3 separate regions of the Homo sapiens genome follow, and regions 1 and 2 are each linked to region 3. The links are contacts of gene promoters, found by promoter capture Hi-C in human tissues and cell types (Jung and others, 2019). All regions are on one chromosome and are shown on one strand. Each heading gives the region's core, a stretch centred on a gene start or on the middle of the fragment in contact. The rest is flanking DNA. Distances are from core to core; before and after follow the strand shown.

Region 1 (3,607 bases), core at 244-2,743, 600 kb before region 3:
ACAGCATAAAACATGAGCCAAAACCAATAAAGAGCCAAATGTCACAGCCGTTGCAGGGCCCCCTAAATCCTGGGGACCCCTTCTTCTACCTGACATCCTATTGGGGTGAGGGACTTTGGTACTCAGAAAGCATCTCATCACTTCCCTGTAAGAGAGAAGGGATGCCGACTCAGGCGCCTGCTTGTCTGTTACAGGAGTGGGGGAAGAGAGGACAAGTTGAGGCTGAGAAGATGGGGAGGGGGAGGGAGAAAAGAGGACTTCCTAGTGTTGACAGAACGGCAAGATGTGGGTTCCCCATCCCCAGTTCAGCCAGAGACCCCTCAAAGTGGAACTTCCTGGGGCAGTCGGGGGTCAGGAGTTGGAGCTTGTCTCTGGGGCAAGACCCCTTCGTTGTACAGATGGAAAAACAAGGGTGGGAGGACACAGCTTGTCCAAGGTCATTCGACCAGCAAACTGCCTAGCTGACCCCAGTGTGCAGAAGCTGGCTCGGGTGACACCCATCATTTCCCCCCACCCCACACAGGGGCCAGCTCTCTCAACTTCATGCCCAAGCCCTCCTACGGTACCCCCACTGTAGGTTCTCTGCCCCTCAAACTCAGCCCAGCTTTCTCCTGCCTGTTCAGGGGACCTTCTGCCCGCTTCGCTGAGGGTCCGTCCCCTTTACTGGGGCTGGCAGCAGGGTCTCCCATCTCCTCTCTCGGGGGCCACTGCAGACTTTTTAGAGAACGCCTTGCCTCCCCCCAACCCCACCCATCCGGGGTTCCCTCTCTCCATCCTCTGCAGTGTCTCCCATACCCCCATTCAGGGTAGCCTTGCTATTCTCCCCAACTCCAGGTCCCCCTTCATCTATTCCGGGGCTGGCCGCGGAGTTTCCTGAGCGCTCTCCAAGTGGGTCCTCTAGATGTTAGGAGAACACTGTACCTCCCCCGGTCAGGGGTCTCCTGTCTCCGTTCTATGGAGCGTCCATGCTCCCATTCAGGACTGCCTTGCTCCCTCCTCTGTTCCGGGGCTGGCTGCACAGTCTCTGCACCCCCTATCCTGAAAGCCTCTCTTAACTATTTGGAAAGCCTCGTGTCCTGTCTCATACAGGGATCCCCTCATCCTAATGACTGCAATCTTCCATTGCTCCATCCCGAGGGCATCCTGCCCCTATTCCCATCAGGTTTCTCCTTGTCCTCTCCCTGTTTCAAGTCCCCTTTCTTATTCCGAACACACTCGCAGGCTCTTCCGACGCGCACCCGGGGGTCCTCACTGGCCCACTCCGGGAGTCCTCTGCCCGCTTCCCCGACCTCGAGGGTCTCCTCTGACGCAGCGTCGATTCCCCTTCCCTCCTCGGTCCCCTGCCCCGCCCCTCTCACTGCGGCGGAGCCGGTCGGCCGGGGGGCCGCAGGGGAGGAGGCGGAGAGGGCGGGGCCCTCCTCCCCACCCTCTCACTGCCAAGGGGTTGGACCCGGCCGCGGCGGCTATAAAAGGGCCGGCGCCCTGGTGCTGCCGCAGTGCCTCCCGCCCCGTCCCGGCCTCGCGCACCTGCTCAGGCCATGATGAGCTTCGGCGGCGCGGACGCGCTGCTGGGCGCCCCGTTCGCGCCGCTGCATGGCGGCGGCAGCCTCCACTACGCGCTAGCCCGAAAGGGTGGCGCAGGCGGGACGCGCTCCGCCGCTGGCTCCTCCAGCGGCTTCCACTCGTGGACACGGACGTCCGTGAGCTCCGTGTCCGCCTCGCCCAGCCGCTTCCGTGGCGCAGGCGCCGCCTCAAGCACCGACTCGCTGGACACGCTGAGCAACGGGCCGGAGGGCTGCATGGTGGCGGTGGCCACCTCACGCAGTGAGAAGGAGCAGCTGCAGGCGCTGAACGACCGCTTCGCCGGGTACATCGACAAGGTGCGGCAGCTGGAGGCGCACAACCGCAGCCTGGAGGGCGAGGCTGCGGCGCTGCGGCAGCAGCAGGCGGGCCGCTCCGCTATGGGCGAGCTGTACGAGCGCGAGGTCCGCGAGATGCGCGGCGCGGTGCTGCGCCTGGGCGCGGCGCGCGGTCAGCTACGCCTGGAGCAGGAGCACCTGCTCGAGGACATCGCGCACGTGCGCCAGCGCCTAGACGACGAGGCCCGGCAGCGAGAGGAGGCCGAGGCGGCGGCCCGCGCGCTGGCGCGCTTCGCGCAGGAGGCCGAGGCGGCGCGCGTGGACCTGCAGAAGAAGGCGCAGGCGCTGCAGGAGGAGTGCGGCTACCTGCGGCGCCACCACCAGGAAGAGGTGGGCGAGCTGCTCGGCCAGATCCAGGGCTCCGGCGCCGCGCAGGCGCAGATGCAGGCCGAGACGCGCGACGCCCTGAAGTGCGACGTGACGTCGGCGCTGCGCGAGATTCGCGCGCAGCTTGAAGGCCACGCGGTGCAGAGCACGCTGCAGTCCGAGGAGTGGTTCCGAGGTACGCAGGCGCGCGGGTGGGGGGAGGGGCGCCCCTGCTGACCCCGCAGCGAACTTTTGGGCTGCGTGACCCAAGGGGGCGCTGCCGGACTGCGCGTGGAGTGGCGCGCTGCTCACCTTCCCTCTGCAAAGTGCATGCCCCTAGTTAAATCGCAGTTTTACTCTGGGTCTCTTGTGGGACGCCCCAACTCTGGGTTGTCCTTCGGTTCCCCCTTTCCAGGTTCTTTACGGCTGTACTTCAACTCTGGGCCCCCTGCTGCTCTCTACCCCAAGCTTAGGCGACCCCACTCTGAGATCCCTCCCCCGTCAAGAAAAAAACAAGTTTCCTCTACAGGAAAAAAGTGGTGCAGGATTCTGGTCTGCAAGCGCTGGAGACTCTTAGCCCTTCTAAGTAGCAAGGCTTCCCCGCCAATGCTGCCATGCCCTCTCCTACACCCCGCAAGAAACTCTATTCCTCTCACCCCTACCAGGCTCCTTCCCACTACCTGCTCAGTGCTTAACGTTCCTACCTTAAATCTTCCACGTGGGGGTGGGTCAGGACCTTTTCGCATCCTTTCTTCCTAGAGGGAACCATTACTACAGTCAGTTGTTGCCTGTGGCGGAGGTGGCTGGTGGGCCCTTTCATGTTTTAATGTCCCCTTTCTCCTTTAGGGAAGCTGGGAGCCTCCCAAGTCTGCCCCTCCCCCAACTCCTTGCAGCCCTGAGTCAGCTAGATTGCGCTGCCCTGAGGCTGTGCCCAGCAGCTGCAGGGTGACCTTGACCAACACTTGCCCTCTCTGGTTTTCATTTCTTTTTGAGTTGAAAGAGGAGGGTAGATCAACTGGGCTGCTTAATCCGGGGAGTTCCATGATGTCTCACGAAACTGTCTGTAAAACTTTGCGTTGTTTTTGAGAGAGAGGGCAGAGGCTTCAGTGATTTTCCAAAAGCATCTGTGATCGACAATAGTTGAGAATCTCCAACCACCTGGATGGTTTCTAAGTCTTTGCCAGCACTAGCAGGGAAAGCTGGGATTTTGATGCATAGCTTTTTCTGTTCCTTTTCCACTCCTCTGCAGAGCAGAACCATCCCCTCCTCCATCTCCGCAGCAAGGCCCCTCCCTGCGCAAACCTCTTTTGGGTTTGCCAGTCGTAGGGGCAGACGTCCCAGGATTGTACTGGCCCACTCAGCTGGCTTCCTTCCTCCCCGCC
Region 2 (3,624 bases), core at 456-2,955, 530 kb before region 3:
CTCTCCATAGAGGAGACCTGCATTCAAGTGTTCACCCAGCTATCCAGGCACCATGTGTGTCTCCATCTCAACACCCTAGGCCAGGCCCTCCACATTCCTCTCCAGGACTACTCTAACAGTCTTGCCCAACAATACTGTCTAAATTCTCTTTCTTAAAAAAGACCGACCTAATTAATGCCTCTCCTGTTTCAAAACCTTTGCTGGCTCTTCATAATGCACTGAATATCCATATTCCCTGACTTGTCATAAAGACCCTTGATGGTTTGTCCCCAACCTACCTTCCCAACTTCATTTCTTGCATTCCTATTCCTACCGACCTTCCCACTGTCCCCAACCTCTGCTCCTAGCTGCAACTGCACCCTGCAATCCCAGTTCCCCAAACACTCCATGTCTTTTCCCCTGCTTGCAAAGATCTTCCTTTTCCTCCCTATATCCTTCAAGACTAAGCAATGCTCATCTGCTCTAGGAAGCCTGTCAGGTCTCCCCAAAGCCCTCTTTTGGCTACTTTGGGTACACTATTAGGGAATTTATCTCTATGAATCATTTACCTGTCTTCCCACCTAGATTGTGAGCTCTACCCTCTTCCCCCTGAGCCTGGCAGAGTGCTCCATAAATTAGTATCCAAACTCCTCGGTCTGGCATTTAAAGACACTCCCAATACTACTGTGATCACTGTGTGCTGGGCCTTGATCTAACTACTTTATGGGTATGTTCTCATTTGCTCCTTATAACAAACTTTTCAGCTAAGAACTACCACCATTTCACAGATGACAAAACTGAGGCTCGCAAGGGGAATTACTTGCAAGTAATTGCGAGTCACATGACTAGTAGGCCAAAATCCGGATCTATCCAATCAATGCCATACTGGTGCTCTTAACTACACTTTTATGCCTCCTAGTCCTGCCAGCCTCTCATCTAGTGATGCCATTGACTCCCAGGTTGATCCTAGAATTTAAAGTATAGAACCTACATTTCATGGGGCTCTACAGTCACAAAGCATCCTCCCTTGTTGCCTCACCACAGCCTCCTGAGGTGGGCAGCACTGTCCCCTTTACCCTAATCCCTCTTGCTCTGTCACCCAAGCTGGAGTGCAGTGGCACAATCATCACTCACTGAAGCTTCCACATCCCCGACTTGAGGGAGCCAATAGTTTGTCACGGTAAAAGTCAGAGAGCCCTGAACTGGAATCTCCATTCTACTCTTTCATGGCTATGAGTCCCCGGACGAGTCACTTCACTTTTCTCTGGGTCTGATTCCTCACAAATCAAATGAGAATAACAGTCCCTACCACAGGGGTTGTTGTGGGCTTTAACACAGGAGGCATTCCACTGGGGAAGGTGATGAAGATGACCTGGGACTGTGGCTTCAGATGATGCATAGGTGATCTTAAATAATGCTGAACACCTAAGGAGAAAGTTAATCCCTTTTCAATTCTTATTTTGAAACTTCTGATTGCTTCAAGGAGAACATCTCAGTTCCCTAGTTTGTCTTTAACATCTATGAATGCCAATGTTCCTTTGTAACAAAAGAACTCTATCCCACAGCCTTAAACAACAAAATCTAGCCAGAGTTTGTTAACAATGATCTAGTTGCATTATATTAACTATATTAATTTTTACCTTCTACATAAAACAAGTGAAAGCAGCTTTCCATTTCTGGTGGAGAGATTTCAAGTTTTCTCTCAAAGTAAATTTGAGTTTAAAAAGTGACTTGGCTGGGCGCAGTGGCTCAGGCCTGTAATCCCAGCACTTTGGGAGGCTGAGGCGGGTGGATCACCTGAGGTCAGGAGTTTGAGACCAGCCTGGCCAACATGGTGAAACCCCGTCAGTACCACAAATACAAAAATTAGCCGGGAGTGGAGGCGGGCGCCTGTAATCTCAGCTACTCAGGAGGCTGAGGTAGGAGAATCACTTGAACCCAGGGAGCAGAGGTTGCAATGAGCCGAGATCGCAGCCACTTCACTCCAGCCTGGGCAACAGAGCGAGATTCAGTCTCAACAACAACAAAAAAAGTGACTGGGCCCAACACCATGGCTCACACCTGTAATCCCAACACTTTGGGAAACCAAGGCAAGCAGAGGTGAGAGAATCGCTTGAGCCCAGGCGTTCAAGACCAGAGTGGGCAACAGAGCGAGACCCCATCTTTAGAAAACATTTTAAAATTAGCCTAGTATGGCGGTGCACACCTGTGGTCCCAAGCTACTCTGGAGGCTAGGGTGGGAGGATGGCTTGAGCCCAGAAGTTCCAGGCTGCAGTGAGCTATGATCGCGCCACTGCACTCAGTCTTGACAACAGAGATCCCGTTGCAAAAAAAAAATTTGGACTGGATTAAAAATTTTTAGTAAACCCCTCCCCCTCCCCCCTCCCCCTCTCTCCACGGTCTCCCTCTGATGCCGAGCCGAAGCTGGACTGTACTGCGGCCATCTCGGCTCACTGGAACCTCTCTGCCTGATTCTCCTGCCTCAGCCTGCCGAGTGCCTGCAATTGCAGGCGCGCGCCGCCACGCCTGACTGGTTTTCGTATTTTTTGGTGGAGACGGGGTTTCGCTGTGTTGGCCAGGCTGGTCTCCAGCTCCTGACCGCGAGTGATCGGCCAGCCTCGGCCTCCCGAGGTGCCAGGATTGCAGACGGAGTCTCGTTCACTCAGTGCTCAATGGTGCCCAGGCTGGAGTGCAGTGGCGTGATCTCGGCTCGCTACAACCTCCACCTCCCAGCCGCCTGCCTTGGCCTCCCAAAGTGCCAAGATTGCAGCCTCTGCCCGGCCGCCACCCCGTCTGGGAAGTGAGGAGCGTCTCTGCCCGGCTGCCCATCATCTGGGATGTGAGGAGCCCCTCTGCCCGGCTGCCCAGTCTGGGAAGTGAGGAGCACCTCTTCCCGGACCCCATCCCGTCTAGGAAGTGAGGAGTGTCTCTGCCCGGCCGCCCATCATCTCAGATGTGGGGAGCACCTCTGCCCCGCCGCCCCGTCTGGGATGTGAGGAGCACCTCTGCCCGGCTGCGACCCCGTCTGGGAGGTGAGGAGCGTCTCTGCCCGGCTGCCCCGTCTGAGAGGTGAGGAGCCCCTCCACCCAGCAGCCGCCCCGTCCGGGAGGTGGGGGGCAGCCCCCGCCCGGCCAGCCGCCCCGTCCGGGGGGGAGGTGGGGGCCAGCCCCAGCCCGGCCAGCCGCCCCGTCGGGTCGGGGGTAGGGGGGCGCCTCCGCCTGGCCGCCACCCCGTCCGGGAGGTGGGGGGCGCCTCTGCCCGGCCGCCCCTTCTGGGAGGTGAGGAGCCCCTCTGCCTGGCCGCCACCCCGTCTGGGAGGTGTACCCAACAGCTCATTGAGAACGGGCCATGATGACGATGGCGGTTTTGTCTAGTAGAGAGGGGGGAAATGTGGGGAAAAGATAGAGAAATCGGATTGTTGCTGTGTCTGTGTGGAGAGAGGTGGACAAGGGAGACTCCATTTTGTTCTGTACTGAGAGAAATTCTTCTGCCTTGGGATGCTGTTGGTCTATAGCCTTACCCCCAACCCCGTGCTCTCTGAAACATGTGCTGTGTCCACTCAGGGTTAAATGGATTAAGGGCGGGGCAAGATGTGCTTTGTTAAACAGAAGCTTGAAGGCAGCATGCTCCTTAAGAGTCATCACC
Region 3 (3,731 bases), core at 197-2,696:
GGGGAGAAGGTTGAGAAAACTTGCACTAAAAGAATATTTCAGCCCAAATTTCAGTTTTAGTCATTATGTTCTAAACTCATGTTCTCGCCAACTTGAATAGTTTTTTTTTTCTTTCCTGCAGAAACAAAATAAGAACAGGTTTCAAGTGGCTCACTCTTTCATCTACTCTCTTGGGAAATCCCCTTGGGGAGGTTCATGGGACTCCAGGAGCCTTTGGAAAGCACCACAGGATACGAAATATCTACCTAAACAGGTGAGAAACGATCCAAGGAGCCACACCCCCAACTGCTCCCACAGTTACCAGGGCAGAAAAAACTGAGATTAGGGGTAGGGCACAAAGGAGAATATATTTATGTTTTATTTGCATAATTACAAATTAATGTTAAAAAGAATGCAAAGTCAGGTCCAGGGTAGGGATGAAGAGGTTGCAGATGCCCTCAAGTATTGGAAAGCTCTGGCCTTCTGGCCTTATGTCTTTTTTCTTTCTTTTCTTTTTTTTTATTTTTGAGACAGGGTCTCCCTCTGTTGCCCAGGCTGGAGTGCAATGGTACGATCTTGGCTCACTGCAACCTCAAACTCCCCGGCTCAAGCGATCCTCCTACCTCAGCCTCCCGAGCAGCTGGGACTACAGGCGCACGTCAGGTGGCCCAGCTAATTTTTGTACTTTTTAAAATTTTTTTGAGACGGAGTCTCGCTCTGTCGCCCAGGCTGGAGTGCAATGGCGGAATCTCGGCTCACTGCAACCTCAGCCTCCTGGGCTCAAGCGATTCTCGTGCCTCAGCTTCCCAAGTAGCTGGGACTACAGGCGCGCGCCACCACGCCCAGCTAATTTTTGTATTTTTTGTAGAGACGGGTTTTCAACATGTTGGCCAGGCTGGTCTCGAATTCCTGACCTCAAGTGACGCGCCCGCCTCAGCCTCCCAGAGTGCTGGGATCCCAGGTGGAGCCACCGCGCCGCACTTCTCGGGCCTTCTTCTAACTCGGGTCCCTGGGCCCCCCAGGCTCTCGCTTCCCTCCCCTACGCCGCCCCGCGCCCGCCTCAGACCTCTCTGGGACCCGCCGGCCTGGCGTCCTGGCCCGCCCGAGCCCCACGGTCCCTCGGGTCCTAACCTCGGCGGGGCAGGCACCTCCTCAGGAAGCCCCGGAGCAGGCTGTCGTTGTATAGGTGGCCCAGGCTGGCGGCCCCTGACCGAAGGTCGCGTCGGGTCAGTGTGCAGCCCGTGGCTGAGAGGCGGCTGCTGAGGGGCCGGGCGGGCTAGGGGCCGGCTAGCCGCCGTTCGCCCCTGCTTTGCATATTCATGAAGTCTAGCGAGGCCGGTCGCCCAGGCTAGCCGTGGACGGGTCATGAATTATTCATGAGGAAACCTCTGGTCCCGCCCAGAAAGGCCTCGTTGACTATTCATGAGCCGAGGAGCGGGTTTGGGCCGGAAAAGGCCGTTGACCCCCGGTGGGAGGGAAGCGTCGACGAGCTGAGGTGAGGGCTGTTGAGACGCGAGGTCTCGGCCCAGAGAGGGCACTCGGGCGTTGTTAGTTCTGTCTTTATGTCAAAAAACAATTTTTTTTTCTTTTCTTATTACTTAAGGCTTTAAGTTGGATTTGAAAGTATCATATTTCGTGAGGGCCTAAAGTACTGTGAAGAGAATCGGGAGGGCAGGGGGCTGAGGAGGAAGGCAAAAGGGAGGCGATTTCCCCCAGAACTGGACAGAGAGCACCCAGGTAGTTTTGAAATTCAGATTTTTCTGGACATGAAATCAAACTTGCTGAGCAAGCAGCAGCCATAATGAGCCATGATGAGGCTGGCAGGGCAGACGATGTCTGTGCCCGACATTGGAGGGGGCCGTGTGTGGTGGAGCTTTGGGGAAGTTTATCTTACCTGGGTCAGATTCTCCCCAGCCATTGAGGTTTTCTGCCAGGATCGATGCCTGGTACAGGCCAAGAGGTGAGAGAGGTGGGGACAAGACACCCCGCCCCCCTTGACCTCAGCTCCCCTTTCACTTTAGTGAGGATTTGCCAATTAATCCCTATGGACTTTAGTTCCCTAAACAGAGGGAGAGAGTCTTGAACCTCAGGATTAGCCAATCGCCAAAATGTGTCCGAGTACGCAGGGCACTGGACAGGCTGTGCAGTACATCGTGTACTCAGCTGGTAGAAATGAGGGGTGGTTCTGGCCCCTAAAGGGGTTTTTAATCTCAGCAGGATCATAATCTAATTTCTCCTCCATTGGACCATCAATCTGTTGAGGTAGGAACAGTATTTTACATCTCGTAATCCTGCATGTTGTTGCCTGGCACATTGTAGTTGCCTCGTAGATGTTGAATGAATGAATAATTGAAATAGCATGAAAAAGATATTAAAAAGTCAAAAGAGCATGAACAAATACTCAATTAATATAGTGGAAGCCATTTTCTCTGAATGAGCACAGGTAGGGGAATTACCAGGGCCAAATGGAATTTGTTAAAATGGTGAATAATTTATTGAAGCAAGCTCTGTTGGAAGGTCTAAGTAATTGGGCGAACTTTGGCAAACCAAGTTCCCTTGCTTAGCCTCACTTTCCTTTTCTTTTTTCTTTTTTTTTTGTGAGATGGAGTCGAGCTCTGTGCCAGGCTGGAGTGCAGTGACGCAATCTCAGCTCACTGCAACCTCCACCTCTCGGGTTCAAGCGATTCCCCTGCCTCAGCCTCCCATGTAGCTGGGACTACAGGTGTGCACCACCACGCCCAGCTAAATTTTTTTATTTTTTTTTATTTTTAGTAGAGACAGGGTTTCACCATGTTGGCCAGGATAGTCTCGATCTCTTGACCTCGTGATCCTCCCACCTCGGCCTCCCAGAGTGCTGGGATTACAGGTGTGAGCCACTGCACCTGGCCCCTTTTCTTTATAGTTTTATGTTTAGGTTTAAATCCATGATCCATTTTGCATTAATATTTGTATACAGTGTGAGATTTAGGTTAAGTTTCTTTTAATTCTCTGTTCTTCCCCCCACCCTCCAGATGTCCTTTTGTTTCAGCATCATTTGCTGAAAAAAAGATTCTTCCTCCACAGAATTGGATCTTCTTTAAATCAAAGGGGTTGGAAGATGTCTGTGCTCCCTTCCAGCTTTAGGAATCTATTGAACCCATTTATGTTAACGTACACTTCTTTTGAGTAAAGCCATTCTTAACAACATGCATGTGTAAGGAAGGTAATATAGTTACATTTCAGAATCCAGCTATTGGATAGTGTTCACCTGATAGAAAAGGGATTTTCTTGTAAAAAACGGTTTTTGAAGATTGAGAAAGATGGGTAGAGAGCCTTCATAAATCAACTATGATTATATTTGGGAAAATGTAATAAAACTTTGGCTTTTGCTTCACTTGGAATGGTTAAAAAAGTGGTTTAGGCCTTAGTAAACTAAACAGCAGCTGGCTAATCTTTATGTGAATCTTGGACTCACACATAGTAGGGGTAAAATAGGAAGTAATTGTGCCACCATATAAAATAGGGCAATTGAAGGCGTGGTGTGGTGTCTCATATGTGTAATCCCAAAACTTTGAGAGGCCAAGAGTTCGAGGCCAGTCTGGGCAACATAGTGAGACCTCCCCCTCCACCCGCCCGCCCAACTCTACAAAAATAAAAAATTTTTAAAAATTAGCAGGGCATGGTGGTGCATGCATATAGTCTCAGCTACTTGGAAGGCTGAGATAGGAGGATCACTTGAGCCCAGAAGTTTGAGGTTGCAATGAGCTGTGATT

The links. The method cuts DNA at HindIII sites, captures the fragments that hold promoters and counts their contacts. A contact is called where the count stands out against the background at its distance.
Region 1: the fragment with the promoter of NEFH here is called in contact with the fragment with the promoter of HORMAD2 in region 3 in 4 of the 25 tissues and cell types used here (adrenal gland, dorsolateral prefrontal cortex, lymphoblastoid cells and 1 more).
Region 2: a fragment that was not itself captured here is called in contact with the fragment with the promoter of HORMAD2 in region 3 in 1 of the 25 tissues and cell types used here (lymphoblastoid cells).

What each region holds. Positions count from the first base shown.
Region 1 is chr22:29,478,725-29,482,331 of GRCh38, forward strand. NEFH (neurofilament heavy chain) reads left to right here and starts at 1,494. Exons shown (of 4, transcript NM_021076.4): 1 at 1,494-2,421. The coding sequence starts at 1,539. RefSeq lists an enhancer at 2,516-3,370. The HindIII fragment of the contact is 10,845 bases long and covers 1-3,607 here.
Region 2 is chr22:29,549,440-29,553,063 of GRCh38, forward strand. The region is part of intron 1 of THOC5 (THO complex subunit 5); the gene reads right to left. Among named protein-coding and RNA genes, the nearest start is that of THOC5, 2.5 kb to the right of the region's middle. RefSeq lists an enhancer at 2,441-3,140. The HindIII fragment of the contact is 5,636 bases long and covers 1-3,624 here.
Region 3 is chr22:30,079,018-30,082,748 of GRCh38, forward strand. It overlaps HORMAD2 (HORMA domain containing 2), which reads left to right and starts at 1,447. Exons shown (of 11, transcript NM_152510.4): 1 at 1,447-1,474. It overlaps HORMAD2-AS1 (HORMAD2 and MTMR3 antisense RNA 1), which reads right to left and starts at 1,240. Exons shown (of 5, transcript NR_110541.2): 1 at 1,111-1,240. RefSeq lists enhancers at 903-1,600, 1,438-1,517 and a silencer at 1,048-1,097. The HindIII fragment of the contact is 22,926 bases long and covers 1-3,731 here.